3 separate regions of the Homo sapiens genome follow, and all the other regions are linked to region 2. The links are contacts of gene promoters, found by promoter capture Hi-C in human tissues and cell types (Jung and others, 2019). All regions are on one chromosome and are shown on one strand. Each heading gives the region's core, a stretch centred on a gene start or on the middle of the fragment in contact. The rest is flanking DNA. Distances are from core to core; before and after follow the strand shown.

The links. Contacts are between HindIII fragments. The study calls those that stand out against the background at their distance.
Region 1: a contact is called between a fragment that was not itself captured here and the fragment with the promoter of SREBF1 in region 2, in 2 of the 25 tissues and cell types used here (dorsolateral prefrontal cortex and hippocampus).
Region 3: a fragment that was not itself captured here is called in contact with the fragment with the promoter of SREBF1 in region 2 in 2 of the 25 tissues and cell types used here (IMR-90 fibroblasts and dorsolateral prefrontal cortex).

What each region holds. Positions count from the first base shown.
Region 1 is chr17:17,585,351-17,588,605 of GRCh38, forward strand. The region is part of intron 1 of PEMT (phosphatidylethanolamine N-methyltransferase); the gene reads right to left. It also overlaps the pseudogene EEF1A1P43. Among named protein-coding and RNA genes, the nearest start is that of PEMT, 4.7 kb to the right of the region's middle. The HindIII fragment of the contact is 6,883 bases long and covers 1-3,255 here.
Region 2 is chr17:17,835,114-17,838,240 of GRCh38, forward strand. It overlaps SREBF1 (sterol regulatory element binding transcription factor 1), which reads right to left and starts at 1,873. Exons shown (of 19, transcript NM_004176.5): 1 at 1,614-1,873. The coding sequence starts at 1,704. RefSeq lists enhancers at 748-1,649, 1,650-2,552, 2,553-3,127 and silencers at 1,252-1,531, 1,722-1,881. The HindIII fragment of the contact is 17,140 bases long and covers 1-3,127 here.
Region 3 is chr17:18,068,917-18,072,100 of GRCh38, forward strand. No RefSeq gene overlaps it. Among named protein-coding and RNA genes, the nearest start is that of DRG2, 17 kb to the right of the region's middle. The HindIII fragment of the contact is 6,284 bases long and covers 1-3,184 here.

The sequences.
Region 1 (3,255 bases), core at 251-2,750, 250 kb before region 2:
AACAACAAAAAGAAGTGAGGTGAGGTATGAAGCAAAAGCTGACAGAACTAAAGGGTGGAAAAGACAAATCCACAGTTCTTGTTAGGGCCCTCCATGGTCCTCTCAGTGACTGAGAGAATCAAAGCAGTGGACAAGAAGGCTGCTGGAGCTGGCAAGGTCACCAAGTCTGCCCAGAAAGCTCAGAAGGCTAAATGAATATTATCCCTAATACCTGCCACCCCGCTCTTAATCAGTGGTGAAGAACGTCTCAGAACTGTTTGTTTCAATTGACCATTTAAATTTAGTAGTAAAAGACTGGTTAATGATAACAATGCATCATAAAACCTTTAGAAGGAAAGGAAAATGTTTTGTGGACCACTTTGGTTTTCTTTTTTGCCTGTGGCAGTTTTAAGTTATTAGTTTTTAAAATCAGTACTTTTGAATGGAAACAACTTGACCAAAAATTTGTCGGGCCGGGCGCGGTGAGTCATGCCTGTAATCCCAGCACTTTGAGAGGCTGAGGCGGGCGTATCATGAAGTCAGGAGATCGAGATCATCCTGGCTAACACGGTGAAACCCCGTCTCTACTAAAAAATTAAAAAAATTAGCTGGGCGTGGTGGCAGGCGCCTGTAGTCCCAGCTACTCGGGAGGCTGAAGCAGGAGAATGGCGTGAACCCGGGAGGTGGAGCTTGCAGTGACCCAAGATGGCGCCACTGCACTTCAGCCTGGGCGACAGAGCGAGACTCCGTCTCAAAAAAAAAAAAAAAATTGTCACAGATTTTTGAGACCCATTAAAAAAAATCTAATGAGAAAGAAAGAAAGAAAAAGAAAGAGAAAAAGAAAGAAAGAAAAAGAAAAAGAAGGAAGGAAAGAAAGAAAGAAAGAAAAAGAAAGAAAGAAAGAAAGAAAGAAAGAAAGAAAGAAAGAAAGAAAGAAAGAAAGAAAGAAAGAAAGAAAGAAAAAAAAAAACGCAGGTGGAAAATCGGGAGGACGCAGCTGACCTGAGCAGCGCCATCCAGTGGCTGGACCTGACCACAGCACATGGCAGCCTTGGGAACAGCCTGCAGTCTCTGGTGTCACCAAAACAGATCACACTTGGGGCCACCAAACAAACCTTAAATTTAAACGAATAGAAAGCATACACAGTATGCTCCCAAACCACCACAGAATTAAACTCGAAATCAGTCACAGAAAGCGATCGTGGAAAGAATGCACGCGAGGGCCAAATGGGAAGTCTTGGGAAATCTAGAAACATTTTGAACTGAATGAAAATGAGAATAGAACACATGAAACCCTGTGGGATGCGGCTAAGGCAGGGCTTCTATTAGTAAGGAAGAAAAGTCCCAGGTCAGGAATATAAGCTTTGCCCTTAAGAAATTACAGAAAGAGTGGCTGGGCGCAGTGGCTCATGCCTATAATCCCAGTACTTTGGGAGGCTGAAGCAGGCAGATTACTTGAGGTCAGGAGTTCAAGACCAGCCCGGCCAACATGGTGAAACCCCATCTCTACTAAATATACAAAAATTAACCAGGCGTGGTGGAGGGCGCCTGTAATCCTAGCTACTTGGGAGGCTGAGGCAGGAGAATTGCTTGAACCCGGGAGACGGAGGTTGCAGTGAGCCGAGATTGCACCACTGCATTCCAGCCTGGGCAACAGAGGAAGACTCCGTCTCAAAAAAAGAAAGAAAGAAATTAGAGAAAGAGGAATGAGTTAAACCCAAAGGAGGCAGGACAAAAAATTAAAGATAAGCAAAAATCAATCAAATTGAAAACAGGAAAACAATAGAGAAAAAAAAATTACACCCAAAGCTGGTTCTTTGGGGAAAATTTATTTTCCCAATAAAACTGAGAAACCTCCAGCCAGCCTGACCAAGAAAAAAAGAGAAAAGACACAAAATATCAATATCAGAAATAAAAGGGGGGACTTCTCTACTGACCTCACAAACATTAAAGTAATAATAAGGGAATACTATGAATAACACAAATTAAGTAACTTAGATGAAATGAACCGATCCTTGCAAGACACAACTGTCAAAATTCATTCAAGAAATAATCCTTTATCTTTTAAAGGATTTGAATTTATGGCTTAAAAACCTAAAAAAAGAAAGCCTTGAGCCCAGATGGTTTCCTGGATGAATTCTGCCTAACATTTAAGGAAAAAATAATTCCAATTCCACACAATCTCTTCCAGAATATGGAAGAGGGAGGCAATACTTCCCAACTCACTGTATTACCCTAACACTAAAACCAGGCCGGGTGCAGTGGCTCACCGCCTGTAATCCCAGCATTTTGGGAGGCCAAGGTGGGTGGATCACTTAAGGTCAGGAGTTTGAGACCAGCCTGGCCAACAACCCTGTCGCTACTAAAAATACAAAAAACAAAACAAAACAAAACAAAAACCAGGTGTGGTGGTAGGTGCACCTGTAATCCCAGCTACTCGGGAGCCTGAGGTGGGGGAATTGCTTGAACTCGGGAGGCGGAGGTTGCAATGAGCTGGTATCACGCCACTGCATTCCTGAGTACATGCCTGAGCAACAGAGCGAGACTCTGTCTTAAAATAAATAAATTAATTAAATCAAATGAAACCAGATAAAGAAAGAAGATCCCCCCAAAAATTAGAGCAAATCAAATCCAGCAATATATACAAAGGATAATATGTTAGGACCAGCCAGAGATCACCCCAGGAATCCAGAGCTAGTTCAACATTCAAAACATCAATGGAATTCATATTTACAGCTTAATGAGGAAAAACAGTGTCATCTCAACAGAGGCAGGGGAAACAAGCTCCAAGAGTTTCTGTCATTGTTTTGATGAGCAGCCACGGAAAGCCTCAACCCTGCTCTGTCTTGGCTGATGCCAAAATTACTGAAGACAAAATGTACGGCCTTGAAAACACCACAGAGTAACTCATCTAATATAACGGCCTAATGTTTATTTCAACTAAAGTAATACAATCAAAAGATTTTTGGAAACGATTTTGGATAAAGGCAAACATTTTTCCCTGAAAGGCAGTCAAGATACCCCGCATCGGCCATCGGAGCTTTGCCTCCAGGGTCTTACTCGGGTGCCCATATTACACACAGGGACCTGTGTCCCCTGCCCCAGGTCTCTCAGCCTTCTGAATACAAGGGCTTTGCCTTCTTGAGGACCACCCTTAGGTGGGCTGCACTCGATACTTCATAAAGCTTTACACCCCTCATCTCATTCTGGTCTTCACCATAACCCCCTCACTGTCCCCATTCTTCTTGACACCAACACCAAGCTGGAGACATCATC
Region 2 (3,127 bases), core at 623-3,122:
AGGGCTTGAGCAGGATGACAAAGGAAGTGAGGAGTGTCCAGGTTCAAGTTCTGACCCCAAAGCGCATGTCCTCCTGGCTTGGTCACGTTGCCTCTTGGGACTACACTCACTGGGCCCAGTGATGTGGAACTGGTAGTTGAGTCAGGCCCAGATCTCCCTAGGGCTTGGGATTTCAGGGTTCATCACTCCAGAGGGCAGTGAAGGACAACCCCTCGTGCCAGGGATAGGGGAGGCTGTTTTGGAAAAGCCTCACAATCAGGGCCTCTCCTCTGGGGTCCTCCCCTAGCCCAGCCCCAGGGGGAAGGAGGGAGGGCTGGGAAGCTTCTGGGGCTGGCAACCAGCTGGGCTCATCTGCAAGGCTGCAGTAGGGCAGGAGTGGTGGTGGCATAGATATATCTGTTTTGCCAACCCCAGGGTGGCCACGGGTTCCATGGACATGTCCATTCAGGCTGTGAGTCTAGGCATCTTGTTCCTGCGACCTTGGCCTCAGTTTCCTCATCAACCAAGTGCAACTTAGCTAGTGCTGCTAAAACTCCTGCACAGAAACCATGCAGGCAATTTGCTAGGGGCTTCCGTTTGCTCTATCTACAAAATGGAAGCAACGGGCCTCCTAATTGGCACTTGGTGCCACCATTGGCCCCAAACCCCTTCTCATCACAGCCAGGGTGATGCTCCAAAGATGGAAGCCGGTGCCACTGTTCTGCTCCGCCCTTTCCCTGGCCGACCAAGTCGGTTTGCGTCCTCCTCCTCCCTGACCTCACTCCTTTGCAAGCCTCTAACTCCTCACACTTAGGCCCTGCCTCGAGGCCTTTGCCCTTCCCTTGCCGTGGCCTGGAAAACATCTTTCCTTGCTGGTCCTGGGGGTGACCCTCAGGTCTCAGCTTAGAAGTCCCTGACCGCTCTACCCAAAGTAGCCACATCCCTGCCCTCCCCCAGCCTCGCTCCACCCAAGGTACAACTAAATACCCGTTTGGTTTCCCGGGAGATTTTTGTGTTCCCTAAAAGAGGGGGTACCCAGGTCTGTCTGTAAACCCTCGGTGCCTAAGACGGGGCCTGGCATTCGGTGGATGTCAGTGAATGAGTGCGGAGGCTGTGCCCGTCGCAGACCGGGAGAACCCGACACGAGGCGGGGGAAGGGCGCGAGGCAGCGCCCATGCGCATGCGCAAGAGCTCCGACGCCGAGCTGAACTCTCGGGCCGGAGGGAATGACCGTGAGTAACCTCGCAATTACGTCACGGCTGGGGCTGGGGCGGAGCTTCGGCGACGCCTGGGTCCCCAGCTTCAGCCGTGGCCATCACAGGGCTGGAGAGTCACCGGTCGGGCGGCACCCGGCCTGGGACGCGTAGAGGCGCACGTGTCCCGGCCCGGAGCCGCCAAGGGACCCCGGCCCGGCCCAGGAGCCCTCACCCACAAGCGCGCGGCCCGAGACGCTAGCGCGGGAACCAGGGAGGCTCGGTGAGGCTCGGGACACCGAGCTCAGAGACACCGGGAAGTCCCGCGCGAGCACAGCACGGAGCTGGCGCCCGTGGGGGAGACAAAGGCCAGGGAGACACCTGCGCGCCCCCTACTCGCGCCACCCGGCGCAGCTTCAAGCCCTGCCCGCCCTGACGCACCTTCGATGTCGGTCAGCAGCGCCGCGTCCAGATCGCACGGCTCGCCCAGCGCCTGCTCCAAAGCCGCCTCGCTGAAGGGTGGCTCGTCCATGGCGCAGCCGCCTCCTCCGGGAGGCCCGCCGGGCCCGCCGCCTCGTACGGCCCTTCCTAGGGAGCGCCGCCGCGGCCCCGGCTCTCAGTCGCCGCCGCCGCTCCGCGCGTTCGTGTCCTGCCCTGGCCTCAGAGGCGGCCCGGCGCCGGCGAAAAGTTCCTCGGAAACTGGGTTCCCCCGGCCGCAGCTCTGCTGGGCGGTCGAGGCGGAGGCGGGGCCTTTCGGGGAGGACCCGCCCTCCCAGATAGACGGCCCCGCCCCACCTTGAGAGAGCGGGGGACCCCTGATCCCCGGTCTGCGCCACAAATCTCCCCTCAGCCGGCCCCTCCTCCAGAGCGCCCTCCAGTCATTCATTTTATCCAGCCTCGCGCACAATGGCAGCGGCCTCTGGCCGGCTGCTGCGGGAACGCGGGCAAGCCGAGCCCCCTCTCTGGGCCTCTGTTTCTCCAGCACCAAGCAAGGAAGCCGAGTGGAAGCCCCAGGCCTGGGCCCATCCCAAACTTCATTTCCTCATTTCCTAGATTTGACTCTTTAGAACAAGACAGACCAGGATCCAAGTTATAGGGGTCCCAGGCCTGCTGTGTTGTGAGCAGGCCTGATGTAACTGCTGGGCCAGTTACATCACTCTGCCTCAATTTTCCTCATTTGTAACATGGGCCTAATGATGCTTTCTCACGGGCAGGCTGGGAGGCTAGTGACAATGTGGAGGGGAGCATGACCTGTGAGATCAGCCTGCCCCCTCTCTGCAAAGAAACCAGAAGATTGGCCTCTTGAGGACAGGAGTGGCCAAAGAAAGAGGCTGGAATTTCGTCATCTGGTTTCCTCCCAGATCCAGCTGTAGGGATAGGATACCAGTGGGCCCAGTGCAGCTCCTGAAGGAGGAAGCCAGTACCCAAGGAAGACTGGCCCCAGGGCTGTCTGACCCCAGATTTGGCACTTATTCCCAGGAGCAGCCAGGATAGGGGCCGCAAGGAAGAGGTAGCTGTGCTTTAGATCAGAGCCAGGCTGCCCTGGATCATCACAAGCTGGGACTAGATCAGAGCAGGCAGCCCTGTTGAGAAGAGGGCTGGAAACCGAACCTGGTTCTGTGGCCTAGGGACAGAGCCAGGTGGGGCAGGAAGGAGGGAAGGGGTCCCAATGAGGTGGGTTGAAATAAACCAGAATTAACATTCAGGAATCTGAATGTGATAAGGCAGTGAGCTCCCTGTCCCCAGAGGTATGCAAGCAGAGAGAAGCACCCTTGGTGGAGGGCAGTCCAGGAAACTCATCAGGGGCCTGGGCCTCAGGCCTTCCCGACCCCAGACCTTCATAAGTCAAGCCATCCTGCAGACTGCCTTGCTCAAACTCCAGATATAGCCTATCTGGCCACGCCCTAAGCAGGAGTAACATTCATGATGCATTTTAGAAGGGGTGTGTGGGGGAG
Region 3 (3,184 bases), core at 216-2,715, 230 kb after region 2:
CTCCCTAGGAGGCTTGAAGGAACATGACTGGAAACATGGGAGATTTTGAGGAAACATATAAAGTGTTGAGGTCTAAATTTTAAGCAAGTTGAAATGCTAAGGGAATTTACATCAGTGGCAGGGCAAAGCTCCCCTGTTGTGTGTATTTTCTGATCTCATATTGTCTAAGCAATAATAAGCTTTTTTCTCCCATGAGATGTGGTGTCAATAAAAGAATAGACTGTTCACAGTGCTGGACTCAGGATTTAAGACACCATTTATTTTTATCTTTTGAGGCAAGCTCTCTATCACCAGGCTGGAGTGCAGTGGTGCTATCACAGCTCACTGCAGACTCCCAGGCTCAGGTGATCCTCTTGCATCAGCCTCCCAAGTAGCTGGCACCACAGGCATGCGACCACGCCCACCTAATTTTTTTTATTTCTGTAAAGATGGGGTCTCCCTATGTTGCCCAGGCTGGTCTTAACCTCCTGGGCTCAAGCTGTCCACCCACCTCAGCTTCCCAAAGTGCTGGGATTACAGGTGTGAGCCACCACACCCAGCCAAGACACCATTTATTGGCTGTTTTGTTGAATGGAAAAGTCATGGGAGGCCTGGGTTCCACCTATCAACCTTGGGTCCCAATCTGCCCTCAAGGTACATCAGCTAACCTCCCTGAGCCCAACTTCCCTCACCCAGAAAGTGGAAAACCTCTGTCTGGACTAAAGAATTGTTGAGGATTCTAGAAGATGCTCCTGAAAGCACATTGTAAATTGAATAAGAATAATTGTAAATTGAATAACATGTAAAAAGTTATTCTTGCTTAATAATAATATAAAAATATCTACTGGGCCAGGGTGCGGTGGCTCATGCCAGTAATCCCAGCACTTTGGGAGGCTGAGGTGGGAGGATCACTTGAGGTCAGGAGTTCGAGACCAGCCTAGCCAACATGGTGAAACCCCATTTCTACTAAAAATACAAAAACTAGCCGGGCATGGTGGCGGGTGCCTGTAGTCCCAGCTACCAGGAAGCTGAGGCAGGAGAATCACTTGAACCAGGGAGGCAGAGGTTGCAGTGAGCCAAGGTCGTGCCACTGCACTCCAGCCTGAGTGGCAGAATGAGATTCCATCTCAAAAAAATATAAATAAATAAAAAGTATCTACTGAGCCTTGCCACATGCACCATTGTAGGTATTGAGGGTGATGCAGGAATAAAACATGTCTACAACAGCTATAGCAACTCTCTTTCATATCTCGATTCTTAGATCCCCAATTTATAACCTTTAGTTAGCTTTGTTTTTAGGCCATCTATAGGAACTGTAGAAATAGTAGAAATTGTGTAGATTTTAAGTGTGAAACCAATTGCAAAACAGGACAAAAGGAAAACTATAAGAATGCTGTCGGCTGGGCGCGGTGGCTCACGCCTGTAATTCCAGCACTTTGGGAGGCCAAGGTGGGCGGATCACAAGGTCAGGAGATCAAGACTCATCCTGGCTAACACGGTGAAACCCCGTCTCTACTAAAAATACAAAAAGTTAGCTGGGCGTGGTGGCAGGCCCCTGTAGTCCCAGCTACTCAGGAGACCGAGGCAGGAGAATGGCGTGAACCCGGGAGGCGGAGCTTGCAGTGAGCCGAGATAGCGCCACTGCACTCCAGCCTGGGCGATAGTGCAAAGACTCCATCTCAAAAAAAACAACAACAAAAAAAGTGCTATCTCCACTCATCTGAACTGCACCTGGGAAGGGAAGCATTAAAATTGCTCAGTAATGAAATAGGCAGTAGGCTTTGATATATTTAAAAATAAAAATTAAAAAAAAAAGCCTCAAAGTTGGATTGCAGTTGAACAGCTTTTCCCTCCAGATTTTTCTTCCAAAACATCGAAAGATTGAAACTCCCTATTTGTACATAGCAGGGAAAACATGTAAGGCTTTTCATTTGTAGAGAAACATATGCTGGATTCAAGTTTATTTTTGCCATTTTTTTCCTTCTGATTTTTCAGTTCGCTTCATTTTTCAATGCATTAGTCATGGTTTCTCTCCATAATCGCTCCACAGCCCCTCCATCTTCATGCCTTCTCACTGGCTTGACCTGGAGCAGTGTTTCTGAAACCTGGCTGCACTTCAGAAGCACATGGGAGCTGATTTAATGTCAGGCAGCATGCAGACCAGTCCTCACAACCTGTCGATGTTTTTAAAGCTCCCCGGGTGACTCCAACGCACAGGAAGCTTTGAGCGTAACTAAGTGAGCCTCCCGCCCTGAAATGAGAGAAAGGCTTTCAGGCTTGTGGTGTTGGTGGACTAAGTGTGGCTTCTGGCCATTCACACAGTCACCACACTGCAAGGGAGCTGGGAACTGGAGCCTGTGAGAAGCCCCTGTGAACAATGTTCTCTGTCTTAAAACAGCTTACACGGACTTCTCCTTTTTACCTCTAAAAGATTCATTCCCCTTTCCCCAACCATATACCCCAGATTGCAACCCCTTGCTATTCTCAAATAAACTTTTTGTTTTGGAGTGTCAGTCTCTCTCTCGCTTATTTTAGCTTGATGTGAGTAGCTTGCAGAGTTGTGCTGCATAAGGAAAGAAAATAAATAGGAAGTAGCTGTCAGGGGAGTGGGCTAGAAATGGGTTGTTGGTTTGGTTATTTCTGCAGGGGGAGGGGTTTTCTGCAAATTATATGTAATGAGGCTTTGTTTATTGTGGTAAAATGTGTATTACATAAAATTTACCACTTTAACCACTCATAAGTGTACAGTTCAGTAGTATTAAGTACATTCACATTGTGTTCCTATCACCACTGTTTCCAGAAGTTTTCCATCATCCTAAAGAAATTCTGGACTCAGTAAACGCTATCTAAATCCCCATTCCTCCCCCTAGTCCTGATAACCACCATTCTATTTTCTGTCCCCATGAATTTGTCTAGATCCCTCATAGAAATGAAATCATAATAGTATTTATCTTTGTGTGACTGGTTTTTTTCACTTGTAGAATGTGTCAGAATTTCTTTCTATGCTATGGCTGATACTCCATTGTATGTATATAACACATTTTATCCATCTGTTGATGAACATTTGGGCTGTTTCTACCTTTTGACTATTATGCATTGTGCTGTTATGAACACTGGTTTGTGTGGTCAGTATCTGTTTGAGTACCTGCTTTCAAGTATTTTGAGTTTGTAACTAAGGAGTGGAATTGCTAGATCATATAATTCT